4 separate regions of the Homo sapiens genome follow, and regions 1, 2 and 4 are each linked to region 3. The links are contacts of gene promoters, found by promoter capture Hi-C in blood cells and fetal thymus (Javierre and others, 2016). All regions are on one chromosome and are shown on one strand. Each heading gives the region's core, a stretch centred on a gene start or on the middle of the fragment in contact. The rest is flanking DNA. Distances are from core to core; before and after follow the strand shown. Region 1 holds the start of SPATA41 (spermatogenesis associated 41). Region 2 overlaps ASB7 (ankyrin repeat and SOCS box containing 7). Region 3 holds the start of SELENOS (selenoprotein S). Region 4 overlaps ASB7 (ankyrin repeat and SOCS box containing 7).

Region 1 (3,457 bases), core at 196-2,695, 930 kb after region 3:
AACAAATTAGTCCAAAACTTAGTGACTCAAAACACTAATAATAATTTATTTTCTCTTGTTTTTTTAACGGTCTGGAATTCAGCCAGGGTGGACACAGTGGGAAGGGCTTGTCTCTACTCATGGTGTTTGGGGCAGACTCAAAGGCTGGGGGCTGAAATCATCGGAAGGCCTGACTGAGGGTAGAGGATCTGCTTCCAAAATGACTCACTCACATGACAAATTAGTTGGTTCTGGCAAGTTGGCCTCCTTTCCAAGAAGTGCCTCTCCACACATGTGCTTCTCTGCAGGGTTGCTTGAGTGTCCTCATGACATGGCTGGTGGTTCCCAAAAAAGCAAGTGATCCAAGAGCAACATTCAGGAATAAGTTCAATCCTTTCTATGACCTAGCCTCAGAACTCACAAAGCATCACTCTCAATACGCCCTATTCATCAGAAGCCAGGCAGTAATTCCAGCACACTTTCTAGGCAGAGGAATTAGGTACACCTGTTGAAGGGAAGCAGGTCATAATTAGAGGATATATTTTTGAACCACCACAGAATCTAACTTAGGTTCGTACAAATATATAAACAGCTGTCCAATACCACATATTGAATAGTCTATCATTACTATATCAGTCTGAGCCATGACTATTTGCATTTACTAAGAATGTGTGTTATTACCATTGAAGACCTTCCAGTGGGACAAGATGTGAAAGCAGAAGACAGTGGTATTGATGATCCTGACCCTGTATAGGCCTAGGCTAATGTGTGTTTGTGTCTTAATATTTGACAAAAAGTTTAAAATGTAAAAAATAAACAACTTCAAAAGTAGGAAAAAAGCTTATAGAATAAGGATATGAAGAATGAAAATATTTTTGTATAGCTGTACAATGTGTTTGTGTATTCAAGCTGTTATTAAAAGAGTCAAAAAATTTAAAAATTCTTAAGGTAGAAAAGTTACAGTAAGCTAAAGTGAATATATTATTGAAGGAAAGAAAATTTTTAAAAATAAATTGAGTGTGGGCCTAGTGTACAGGGTTTTAAAGTCTACAGTAGTGTACAGTAATGTCCTAGGCCTTCGTATTTACTCACCACTCACTTACTGACTCACCCAGAGCAACTTTCAGTCCCGTAAGCTCCAAGCTTACGGTAGGTGCCCTAGGCAGGTGCACCAGTTTCAATCTTTCATACCATATTTTTACTGTATCTTTTCTATGTTTAGATACACAAATACTTACCATTGTGTTACAGTTGCCTACAGTGTTCAGTACCACACTGTACAGGTTTGTAGTCTAGAAGCACAGCCTACAGCCTGGGTGTGTAGTAGGCTGTGCTGTTTAGGTTTGGGTAAGTACACTCTATATTGTTTGCACAATGATGCAATTGCCTGACGATGCATTTCTCAGAACGTCTGCTCACTGTTACGCAACGGAGGACTGTGAATTGGGAGTTTATTTTGTTTTTCAGTCTGTACTGGCAGCGAATCATACATAGCTTAGTTTATCAGACAAGCTGCTTTTCTTGAGCAAAGAAAGAACTAGGAGAGAAACGGGGCTTTGGAACCCTGATGCGGCAATGCTGAAAGAGGAGAAATATCCCAAGGAAGGGAAAGGTGTGTTGCAGAACGATGAAAAATAGGCGGCTTCTCACAGCTGTTCTCAGGGGACGAGACGGGGTGGGATGCAGCTCCGCCGGTGCCTAACACTAAGGGCCCTCATCCTGCCGATTCAGTTGTGTCGGGACCGCCAGTGCTGTCTCCTCGTCAGATGCTGCTTCTGGTCTCCCCGCAGAAGATGCCACTGGAGTTGCCTTTTCAAGGATGGGGACATTTGAAGGCCCTGGACGCTCAGCTCTGAGGCTGGCTGGGATCTCACTAGCACCCCCTGGTGGAGGCCGGAGCCAGGCTGACGCGGGAAAGTGGGGCACGGAAGCGCTGCGGATTGGACCGGCGGCAGCTAGGCCGAAACGCCTGTATTTAAAGGGATAGTAACTCGGACTCGTTCTGCAATATCCCCACAAGGGCCTGACTGAGCGAGCGAGCATGGACGGCCGCGGGGCTTTCTGGACAGTGGCCATTCCCAGAGCCAGGCAGGAAGGCCTCGGGAGGCTGGGGCTCCCGTTCCCGGTGAAGCGGACGCCGCCAGCGCCCCAGAACCCAGGAGGAAGCACACAGGCCCCACAGAGAGTGGTTGGCAAGAGTCACTCGGGGATTAGGATGCCGGCCAAATCGCGGAATTTGAGGCTGGAATCCAAGCTCAACAGGAAAGTAGTGAAATACAAATGGGGAAAACAGGGCTCTGGAGCGGGGAGGGAGCTGGTGCCGGCATTTCCCACCAACGCCGGTTTAGGAAGACGGGACCGATGCCGGCCGCCCCCTGCTGGAGGGGATGTGGCATCTCACGGGCTGCCAGGGAGCGGGGTTGGCTACTCCTGCAACCAGCGTGAAGAGGGTCTCAGGGGAGGCTGTGGTGGGATCCCCCACGTGCCCTTGTTCCTCTCACCGTTACCTCTGGATGCCTCGGGGCAAAGGCCTTCTTCCACCTATAGACAGAGTCTACGCAGGGGTCTTGGAACCCGGGCACACCAGTCCCCAGCTAACGAAATCCCCGAGTTGGGGGATTTGAGAGGGTCACGTTTGGCCCAAGAACCCGCAGTCCTCTTTGGTCTTCGGCCCTCTATTTCTAAGCGTGGGCTTCTGGCACGGCGGCTCTGGGCACAGCCCATGCTGCTTTCGGGCTGGGTGGTTTCAACGACGACAACAATTATCACAGTGACGGTGACCTTCACCCCAACAGGACTGCTGTGTGTGAAGCACTCAAGAGGGCCCCTACAACCAACCTGCCAGGAGTCGGCTCCTGAAAACAGGGTCGGAAAAGGTCAGTGCCCATCAGAATCGAGCTGTCGGCAAAAAGCTGGAGAGGTTAGGAGCTTTGTCTATCTCAAGGGTAACAAACTGCTTTGACCCTGAGGGCTCTGAAGACGACTTTCCCTCACCGCAGCTCTCAAGACAACAGGGATCAGACTCAGAAAGACACTGCCTGTATAAGGCTCTTGTTTGTCTTGTTTTTAATTCCTGCCCTCTGCCTCCAGATCTCAGTCCTCTATCTGTGAAACGGAATTCGGCCTTGCCTGTCCACGAAATGAAGACAAGGCATCTCGTGTGTGTTAAGATGAAACAAGATCTTAGCAAGAGAGTAATGATTTCTTTTTTAAAACATTTTTTACTGTAGTAAAATGTACTATAACGTAAAATTACCATTTCAATCATTTGTAAGTTCAGTGGCATTAAGTACATTCACATTGTCGGGCAGCTGTCAGAGGTGTTCGAACCAGAGCGACTCCATCTTGAACAGGTGCTGCGCAAAATGAGGCTGAGACCTGCTGGGCTGCATTCCCAGGAGGTTAGGCATTCTTCGTCACAGGATGAGTCAGTGGCTGCCAGGGAGGCAGGTTGGTTACCCCAGGAACCAATGAATTG
Region 2 (3,161 bases), core at 2-2,501, 660 kb after region 3:
CGGGTGACCCGGTCTGGCTGGTAAGAGGTTTCCCTGAGAAAACGATCAGTGAGAGCTGAGAGAGAAGCAGGCAGAGCAAGGTGATGGGGCAGGGGTGGGGAGAGAGCAGAAGCGTGACCCAAGAGGGTCCCAGGCCAAAACCTTTGCACTCAGTGACTCTGAAAGAATGCAGAGGGGCTGTGGCTCAAAGCTGCAGCTGGAAAGGTAAGAGGGGCCAGGCACTGCAGCACCATGTGGATCACACTATAAACTTTGAATATCATCCTAAGAGAAATGGGAAACCAATTATGGATTTTTAAAAGGAAATATTTTTATTTCCATTTTAACAGGTCACATTATTTGGAGACTGGTTGGGAGGGGGCAAGACTGGAGGCAGGGATGGAAGAGACCACTGTAGCAGTCCTGGTGAGGAATGTTTCCTGGCCCAAAAATGGGGTGGCATCTCCAGGGAAAGGAAGTGAAAAGCTCTGACAACTTTTTAGGAGGCAGAATCAATAAGACTTAGCAATCAGTCATATTAGAGGTAAGGAAAAGGTACCAAGGATGGTTTCTAGATTTCTGGCATGGCAATCAGAGGCTGTGGTGACACTTACTAGAATGAACACCGTGGTGAGAATGGACACAGCTTGTGCTGTGCTGGCGATGTCTATGAGCCATGAGAGTGCAGACATTAAACACATAGTTGGCTACACTGATCTAGAGGTCATAAGCCAGGACTACACTAAATACAGAGCATGCCTAAGCACCACAGGTGGCCATAAGCAAGTGGGCAGTAGGTGTTTGCTTCTACTAATTTTTCTAAGTTGGTTCATAATACACTGGGTGAAACACTTTCTGAATCTCTTATTCTACTAGGGAAAGGGTATCAGGTAAAAGGTGCTACATAAAAACAAATACAGGGCTTATCCAAAATATTTGTTGTTTTAAATAAAAACTCAGAAATGGAACCACACATATATGAAAACCTTATATCTGACCTAGTGCACAGTAATGAAGAAAGAAGGCATGATTTAGGCTGTCTTTATGGGAAAAAAGTGAAACTGTACCAGGCTACCTCATATACACCAAAGCCAATTCTGAACAGATTAAAAAGCTAAATACCATAAAACATTTTAGAAGAAAACAAAGGCAAATAATGACCCTGCAGTATACTTCCTAAACAAGACACCAAGGGCACAAACGATAAGGCTAAAGAAAACCATAATTCACCTACATTGAAATGTAGACTTCTGCCCGACAACAAAAACAAGAATGTGAAAAAACTACAGAAAGAGAGAAAACATTGCAAAATCTAACAAAGGAGAATATATAAACAATTCCAACAAATCAGTAAGACAAAAAGCCCAGTCTTGCAATGTTTGTTACTCATATGTCATTTTTTCCAAGAAAAAAAAAGAAAAAGAGAGGCAGGTATATCACACCAGGAAAGAGAAAAACCATCTGGTAAGTACATCACTAGCAAAGGCAGGTGAACAGGCACTATCCTGCCCGGTCAGTAAGGACATAAAATGATGACAATCTCTTCGGAGGACAACTTGCCAATATCCATAAAAAATGTTTTGACTTGGCAAATGCACTTCTAGGAGTTAGTCAAGAAATAAACTCTCACATAATGTAACACGATCATTCAAGGACATTCTCTGTAATGTTTCTAGTAGCAGAAAAATGAAAACTTACAATGTCCAACAATAAGAAGTGTAAATAAATTACATCCATACGATGGAATCTGAGACAGAGTCCTATGCAGATAAGGAACTATCACGAAATTAACTGTTATGTGAAAAAATCAAGAGGAGGAACAGAACATTTTAAAAAGGGAGCTGGCTACAAGGTAGAAAACGGAAAAATATTTCTGCCTACATGCATAGACTATCTCTGGATGGTACAAAAGAAACCGGTGAAAGAGATGGCCTCTAGAAGAAGAGTAAAGGACTGGGGCTAAAAGTTAGAGACTTGCCCTCACTGATCAGCTTTAAGTGGCTTTTTAACCATGTATGTATGCACTACCTTTTCAAAAAACAAAATCTCCTGCTGTGAAAATTCCAGCCATTCTCAAAAAATAAAAGAGAATAAACAAATGATAGTATATCCATACCTATCAATACTATATTCAGCAGCTGAAAAGAAGAGTGAATCAATATGTATTAATAGAACCAACAGAAGGTTTCTTTGGGGGTAATGACAATGTTTTAAAATTGACTTTGCTGATGAATATCCAACTCCATGAATATGCCGAAAGCCATTAACTGTACACTTTAAATGAGTGAATTCTGTGGCATGTGAATTACATCTCAATAAAGCTATTAAAATATATATAGATATACAGTCATATATACTACTTAACAACAGGGATACATTCTGAGGACTAGGTTGTTAGGTGATTTCGCTCTTGTGTGAACACCATAAAATGCACTCACACAAACCTAGACGGCACAGCGTACTACACACCCAGGTTATATATAGCTTACTGTTCTTAGGCCACAAGCCTGTACAGCATGTTACTGTACTGAATACTGGAGGCAACTGTAATACAATGGCATTTGTGTACCTAACCATAGAAAAGGTACAGTAAAACATGGTATTATAATTTTATGGGACCACCATTGTAAATGGGGTCCATGATTGAGCAAAATGTCCTTATGCTGCACGTAACTAGATACATACATATATACAGAGAGAAAGATTCAGAAACTATAGCCCAAGCTTGTCCAACCTGCAGCCCACGGTGGGCATGCAGCCCAGGACAGCTTTGAATACAGCCTAACACAAATTCATAAACTTTCTTAAAATATTATAAGACTTTTTTGCTTTTTTTTTTTTTTTTTTTGCTCATCAGCTGTTGTTAAGTGTTAGTGCATTTTATTCATGGCCCAAGACAATTCTTCTTCCAGTGTGGCCCAGGGAAGCCAAAAGACTGGATGCCCCTGCTACAGCCTCTAAGCCCCTCACTGGTTTTTTCTTTTTTTCCCCCCACCATTGGTTTTGATAAAGTTTTACTGGAACACAGCCACACCCATTAGTTTACATACTATCTGTGGCTGCTTCCAGGCTCCGACTGCAGAGCTGGGTAGTTACAAAGCCAGTACGGCACACAAAGCCTCTCATGTTTACTATCTGGCCTTTTACAGAACAAGTTTGCAGACTCCTGCTATTAAAAAGTC
Region 3 (3,543 bases), core at 781-3,280:
AGTCTTGCTCTGTCATCCAGGCTGTGGAGTGCAGTGGTACAATCTTAGCTCACTGCAACCTCTGCCTCCCAGGTTCAAGCGATTCTCCTGCCTCAGCCTCCCTAGTAGCTGGGATTACAGGCGCCCGCCATCACACCTGGCTAATTTTTGTATTTTTAGTAGAGACAGGGTTTCACCATGTTAGCCAGGCTGGTCTTGAACTCCTGACCTCAGGTGATCCATGCACCTCGGCCTCCCAAAGTGCTGGGATTACAGGCGTGAGCCACCGTGCCTGGCCAAATTTTTTTGTAGAGATGGGATCTTGCTGTGTTGCCCAGGCTGGTCTTGAACTCCTGGCCTCAAGTGATCCTCCTGCCTCAGCCTCCTAAAGTGCAATAGGATTACAGGCAAGAGCCACCACTCCTGGCCCACTGCAACATTCTTGAAGCTCTCAAGTCTTCATCTGACACCTTGTCAAGATGGGGAACTCTTGTGTTAAACCATCCTGTTAAGTTACTGTATAAAAATAAAACTGCTCCCAAGCATTGATTGAAACTGTTTTGGTATGAGTTTCCTGAGAGAAAAGTGAGGCCCTAACCATTTTTTTCCATGAACTATGACCCCAGTACGGTATACCTAATGTCCTTCACAGCCTAACAAAATAGTTGAGGCAACCCTGCTCATCCTGTCTAGTTTATCAGTATTTAGATGTAAGGCGGATTTAAAGCTAATCTGGGACTGAGAATTGCAACTAATTCCATAGAAGTCATTCAATTTAGCACATAAATGTTCCTGCAAGATGCCAGAGCAAGTGAGAAATCATCTGTAGCAAAGCAAAGAGTGGTGATGGTTCATCACCTTTTACAACGGAAAGGCAAACATGAAGAAGGAAATTCTCCCTCCTAAAATTCCTCATTAAATCGATAAGCTATCTTCACAGCCTTTATGGATAACATCCAGAGTCCTCGGTTCATCTGAGGAGTCCATTTTCAAGGTGGCCAACAGGGAAGAAGAGCTTTCAGGCTTCTCTTTGCTATGGCTCATGAATGCCAGGTCCCCTTTATTGCTTTCTGAACACACTGCTGGGAAAGCTTGATGAGGTCAGTGCTCAAATCCCTGCAGCTGTCCCCCTTGAGGAACTTCTTGGCAAACCTGCATTGAAGAAACACTGATTGCGTTCACGCTTCATGTCATGGTTTGCCTTCCCCACACTGCTCCTGGCGACAGTGGTGACGCAGCACTCGGATGTTGTCACCTATTCATTATTTTTTCAGTTCTATTCCCAATTCCCAACCCTTCTTTTGAAACACAGCTAGGTATGTGCACTTCAAATGCTCCAGAAAAACCCAAGGTCACATTTCAAATAGGATGGTTATGGTCACCATAAAGGTGGTGACGTTTGAGTGGTGGAAGAGGGTGCGGGACGGCGTTGCAGGCAGAGGAACACAGCCAGGACACTATTATAAGTAACTCTGTGATCGTGTCTTGTGGTGATACAGTATAATTCAACACAGGTTAGAGCAGTTACTATGATCGTTCTTTCCTAAAAGGCTTTGATTTTGGAGAAAGAACCTTGAGGATCGGTGGGGACTTTCTTGGCCTGAAAGGTATCACCAGCAGCAGGAGCAGGAGGCTGCTCACATTTCGTGTCTTCACTTGGGGTGGACGTTGGCTGCAACCCTCAAATGCTGGGAGTCGTCAACCAACTGAGCCCTGTTGTCCAATGTGCCCCGGGCAAGGATGTGGGTGCAAATCCTGCTTCCGGGCGACCACTGACTTCCTTGGCTTCAGTGTCCAATTAGAAAAAAAAAAGAAAGTAGAAATTCGGTAAGAAATCCGTGAACGAGGTCCGTCCTCCACCCCCGACTCAAGCCAAGAGATAGCACAGAACGTTCCCACACGCGCTGTCCCGGCCCCGGCGAGCGTAGCCGGGATTTCTCCCCCGCCACGCCCCTCGGCCACGCCCCCCTGCGTTTGGCCCAGCGACGGGGCGGGGTCGGCCTGCGATTGGCCGGGACCACGACCGCGTCCGGGCGCGCCACGTGTGCGTAGGAGCGCACCGGAAGCGCCCGGCTGGAGGCGCGGCGGCAGGGCTGGGCGGCGGCGGCGGCGGCGGTCATGGAACGCCAAGAGGAGTCTCTGTCCGCGCGGCCGGCCCTGGAGACCGAGGGGCTGCGCTTCCTGCACACCACGGGTGAGTCGTTGCGGGGCAGCCGGGCGCGCGCCGCCACTTTTGCGACGCGCAGCCATGATGGGTGGGTCGTCCGCCGCTGCACCGGGCGCCGGAGCCTGGGAGGCCTGGGAACGGTCGGGCGTTGGCGCTTACGCGGACCTTGGGCAGCAGGCCCGGACCTTGCGCGGAGGCTTCTCGGGAGCCGCACTTCCCTGGGCGGCTCGGCTGTCCCTTGTTTGCGCAAGTCTTTTTTGCGAACCAAGCCCTTCCTGTGGTAGTTACTGGGGTCACTCGGCCGTTGGCGTTTGCCTCTGGGACCCGTCCCACACAGCCCCATACACACTCCTGACTCCCCGCGCTGTCACCCCTTTCTATGTGGCTCTGAAAGGCCTTTGCCTTCCTGATTCAGATTAGTTGCTCTTCATTCTTCAAAACCCAGTTGCTGTGCCCTCCACACTCTAACTGCCCCCGACTCCCCAGATGGTTGGGAAGTCTCACTTCTCAGTGATCCCTGAATTGTCGCACTTCTTGAGTTCGTGTTTTAACGATCTACTTAGGAGGCTTTTTCCTCAGCCTAGACCATGAAGGCTTTGAGGGCAGGAGTTACACTTTGTGTTTGTTGAGTCTTATGGAAAGGTCAACTAGTAGTGTCATTTTTAGTTTTTTGAAAACTGTTTTTCTTTTCAGTGGGCTCCCTGCTGGCCACCTATGGCTGGTACATCGTCTTCAGCTGCATCCTTCTCTACGTGGTCTTTCAGAAGCTTTCCGCCCGGCTAAGAGCCTTGAGGCAGAGGCAGCTGGACCGAGCTGCGGCTGCTGTGGGTTAGTGCCTGATAACCGAAATGAAAGCGGTGGTTTTGCACCTCCTTTATATTAAGAGTTAGTCTCTTAGTAAAAGTAAGAGGGGCCACACAGGAAGACCCTGTCTCTATTTAAAAAAAAAAAAAATAGCCGGGAGTGGCGGCACGCACCTGTAGTCCCAGCTGCTCAGGAGGCTGAGGCGGGATAATCACTTGAGTCCAGGGAGTCAAAGCTGCAGTGGGCTATGCTCGGGCCACACTACACTCCAGCCTGGGCAATTGATTGAGACCTTGTCTTTAAAAAAAAAAAAAAAAAAAAAGTAGGAAGTATATGGTTCTCGGTGGGGCGCGGTGGCTCACACCTGTAATCCCAGCACTTTGGGAAGCCGAGGCAGGAGGATGACTTGAGGTCAGGGGTTCGAGAACAGCCTGGCCAACATGGTGAAACCCTGTCTCTACTAAAAATACAAATATTAGTGGGGCGTGGTGACGGGCACCTGTAATCCCAGCTATTAGGGTGGCTGAGGCAGGAGAAATCGCTTGAACCTGGGAGCTGGAGATTGCAGTGAGCTGAGATTGTGCCACTGCACT
Region 4 (3,362 bases), core at 281-2,780, 630 kb after region 3:
TCTGCTGGTTTAGAATACCGTGCTTACCAAGGAACCATAAATTTGGAAAGGGTAAATTCTCCACTCTAAACCTGCTTGTGTCATTTAAGAAAAGACAATTTTTCTAAATGCAGTATTGTATACAAAGCTTGGACCTCTTAAACTTGGACCAAGAAACCAAATTAAGACCTTCAAGCATGTGGTGTGTGTTTTTATATATATATAAAAAATCCCTCCCCTACAATGAAAACCAACCAAACAAACAGAAAACCCAAAAGTGTATACCTGCTTTCTGATTTCACAGCAAATCAGAAATTGCATAGGATATACTTTGTGCAAGGCAAAAAGCCTTTTAAGTATCTAGAATAGAACTCCTAATCTTGCTCACAGTTCTGGCATATCAGATATCATCAAATTTGTGTTTTAAGTAGTCTTTCATGACCTTGGCAATTGGTAGTTCATCAAGTAGCTTTAGGTTTTGAAGGCCTATACATTGTCGAATTTTAATTCGGCACAGGTCCTGCAAGTTTCTGGGCTGTCCTAAAAAGACAGAAAAAAGAAAATGTTACAAAGCCACAAAGCACAATATTTAAGGCACTTTTGAAAAGAACTGTTCATTTCCCTGGAAGTTCTCTCTATGGACTTGACATGCAAAGGACCGGAAAGATACCAACTCAAAGTGTCCTAGGACCTTCATGCGATGCCTTATTTGATCCTTTTCACAACCGTGGGATGGTGGATATTTTCAACTCCATTTTACCAATAAGAAAACTGAGTATCAGATGTAAACAAGTTGCTTAATATCAGACAACCAATTAAGGCTTTCAACTGAGACCAAAAACAGTTTTGATTCTAAGCCTCATATCCTTTCTGTTATAAATCAGGAAAATTCTGGTTCTCGTCCTGACTAGGTCTCTCTCACGCTGGGTGAGCCACTGTGAGCCAATCATTCCTCTGAGCCTTGGCTTCTCAATCTGAAAAGTGTGGGGACTGAAAGAGATGTCCCCTATTGTGAGCCTCCCTTTCAGCTCTGGGTCTAGGACACTGGAGCCCGGACACCCACCACGGTCTCTGTGGAGCTTTCCAAACAAGCTTTCCAGATCTGCTCACCTGTTTTCCGTGATTCTGAACACAGCAGAACCTTGGTTGTAAGGCTGACAGTTGAGGAGTGCAGCAGAAGGGGGTGTGAAAAAGCGCCTCAAGGTATTCTGAATCTACATCGCTTCAAGCTTCCACACCCTGATCACTTGCCAATAAAAACCCGTTATATCTCAATTCAAAAGAAAAATCACAAAATCCTATTTCTTTCCCTTTGGAATATTTTGTTTTACAAAAACAATACAGATGGCTCCAAAAACAAGGAAGAATTCTTCAACTGTGCTTCAGTAGTGTTTGGAGTCAAGGAAGTTTTGCTTTCATATTAAACATGATAATAAAGCTAATATATATTGAATACTTACTCTGCGCCATGTATTGTTAAGAGCTCATGACATGTATTAACTCCTTTCATCCTTTTACGAGGGAAGTACTTTGATCATCATCCCCATTTTATAGAGTCTCAGAGAGATTAAGTAACATGCTTAAAGTCAAGTTGAATGCCATTTTTCAGTCATTCTCAAACTTTTTGTTTTCAAAACTCCTTTACACTTTAAAAAATTATTGCGAACCCCCAGAAACTTTTATGTGGGCTATCTCTATAGTAAATGCCATATTATAAGTTAAAACAGACATTTTAGAAATACTTTTAAATTCATTCTAATAAACCATTACATGTTAACATAAATAACACATCATTATGAAAAGTAACTATATTTTCCAAAACCAAAAAAAAATTTAACAAGAACGTCATTCTTTCACATTTTTGCAAAGCTTTTAATGTATGGTTTAATAGATGATAGCTGAATTTTCATATATGCTTCTGAATTCAATCTGTTGAGATAAGTCACATCAATCACACCACCTCGTCTCTGGAAAAAACTGACACTCATGATAAAAGGAATGAGAGAAAGGCAAATCATGTCTCAGTGTTATTATGAAAATCAGGAGGAGACCCATGGAGAGAAAACAGAGTCCGGGATTACACCGCAACTTCTCGCTTACCTGTGCAGTGTAATTTTGAGCTGTCTCTTTGTAGTCCTAAGAGACAGGAGCTCCCGTTCTCAGCCTACTAACCCATAACTGTGGGCAAGTCGTGTACACTCCCTGACATGGCTCAGCTGCAAACAAGCTTCTACACTGATCACAAGAAATAGGCCATCAATGATGTTGCCTTCTCAATCCCTGCTGTCTCTTAAAGTGTTGACCTTAGTAACATCATCAATTAATTACTAAAGGGCAGAAATGAGTTCCACAAATATGTGGAGTTTGATTTCCTTATTAAGGGTCAGTTTCTGTGAATGCCCTTGGTCAAACACATGGAACGGGAGAACACCTCCTTAAAAGAAGTTGTGGAAAGAGAATACGCGGAGAAGTACACCGCACCCCAACCAGAATGAAGTGTCCTTGATGAGTGGACCAGTTCAATTCAAGGGACAGAGGTATGGATCTTGACTGGTTCTTATGATGAGACTTCTCGAATCTGGTCCTTGGAAGGAAAGTCAACATTGACAATTGTGGGACACATGGATATTGTTAACAGATGTGGCCTGGGTGACAAAAGACAGTTTGTGTTACTATTGAGTGGCTCTATGGATCAGACTATTCTCTTATGGGAGTGGAATGTCCAGAGAAACAAAGTGAAAACCCTATGCTGCTGCCCAAGTGTAGATTCCACAGCTATTGATAGCTCAGGAACTAAATTTTGCAGTGGCTCCTGAGATAAGATGCTAAGGATCTGGTCTACTGTCCCTACAGAAGAAGATGAAATGGAGGAATCCACAAACTGACCAAGAAAGAAACAGAAAACAGAGCAGTTGGGACTAACAAGGACTCCCATAGTGACCTTCTCTGGCCACAAGGAAGCAATCTCCTCAGTGCTGTGGTCAGATGCTGAAGAAATCTGCAGCGTATCTTGGGACCATGAAATTAGCGTGTGGGATGTCGCGTTTGGCAATCTTAAGTCAACTTTACAGGAAATAAAGTGTTTAATTGTATTTCCTATTCTCCACTTTGTAAATGTTTAGCATCTGGAAGCACAGATAGGCATATCAGACTGTGGGATCCCCAAACTAAAGATGGTTCTTTCGTGTTGCCGTCCCTAACCTCACATACAGGTTGGGAGACATCAGTAAAACGGTCTCCTACCCATGAACCACAGCAGATTTCAGGATCCTTATATAACACCGTCAAGCTGTGGGATTCAAGAAGTTGTAAGGCTCCTCTCTATGATGTGGCTGCTCATGAAGAGAAAGTTCTGAGAGCAGACTAGACAGACACAGGGCTCC

What was found. The method cuts DNA at HindIII sites, captures the fragments that hold promoters and counts their contacts. A CHiCAGO score of 5 or more calls a contact.
Region 1: a contact is called between the fragment with the promoter of SPATA41 here and the fragment with the promoter of SELENOS in region 3, in 1 of 17 cell types (non-activated CD4 T cells). The highest score is 5.2, in non-activated CD4 T cells.
Region 2: a fragment that was not itself captured here is called in contact with the fragment with the promoter of SELENOS in region 3 in 5 of 17 cell types (monocytes, M0 macrophages, total B cells and 2 more); the score reaches 6.6 in monocytes.
Region 4: a contact is called between a fragment that was not itself captured here and the fragment with the promoter of SELENOS in region 3, in 1 of 17 cell types (endothelial precursors). The highest score is 5.8, in endothelial precursors.

The regions. Positions count from the first base shown.
Region 1 is chr15:100,348,706-100,352,162 of GRCh38, reverse strand. SPATA41 (spermatogenesis associated 41) reads left to right here and starts at 1,445. Exons shown (of 2, transcript NR_028139.1): 1 at 1,445-3,429. LOC105371021 (a long non-coding RNA gene) reads right to left here and starts at 2,557. Exons shown (of 3, transcript XR_007064777.1): 1 at 2,481-2,557; 2 at 1,218-1,788; 3 at 19-484. RefSeq lists an enhancer at 2,018-2,277. The HindIII fragment of the contact is 2,620 bases long and covers 1,125-3,457 here.
Region 2 is chr15:100,614,409-100,617,569 of GRCh38, reverse strand. The region is part of intron 4 of ASB7 (ankyrin repeat and SOCS box containing 7); the gene reads right to left. Among named protein-coding and RNA genes, the nearest start is that of ASB7, 13 kb to the right of the region's middle. The HindIII fragment of the contact is 2,908 bases long and covers 1-2,705 here.
Region 3 is chr15:101,275,972-101,279,514 of GRCh38, reverse strand. SELENOS (selenoprotein S) reads left to right here and starts at 2,030. Exons shown (of 6, transcript NM_018445.6): 1 at 2,030-2,173; 2 at 2,840-2,974. The coding sequence starts at 2,098. RefSeq lists a silencer at 1,825-2,154. The HindIII fragment of the contact is 1,843 bases long and covers 1,073-2,915 here.
Region 4 is chr15:100,645,480-100,648,841 of GRCh38, reverse strand. It overlaps ASB7 (ankyrin repeat and SOCS box containing 7), which reads right to left. Exons shown (of 6, transcript NM_198243.3): 6 at 1-519. The coding sequence ends at 380. It also overlaps the pseudogene WDR12P2. Among named protein-coding and RNA genes, the nearest start is that of ASB7, 45 kb to the right of the region's middle. The HindIII fragment of the contact is 640 bases long and covers 1,211-1,850 here.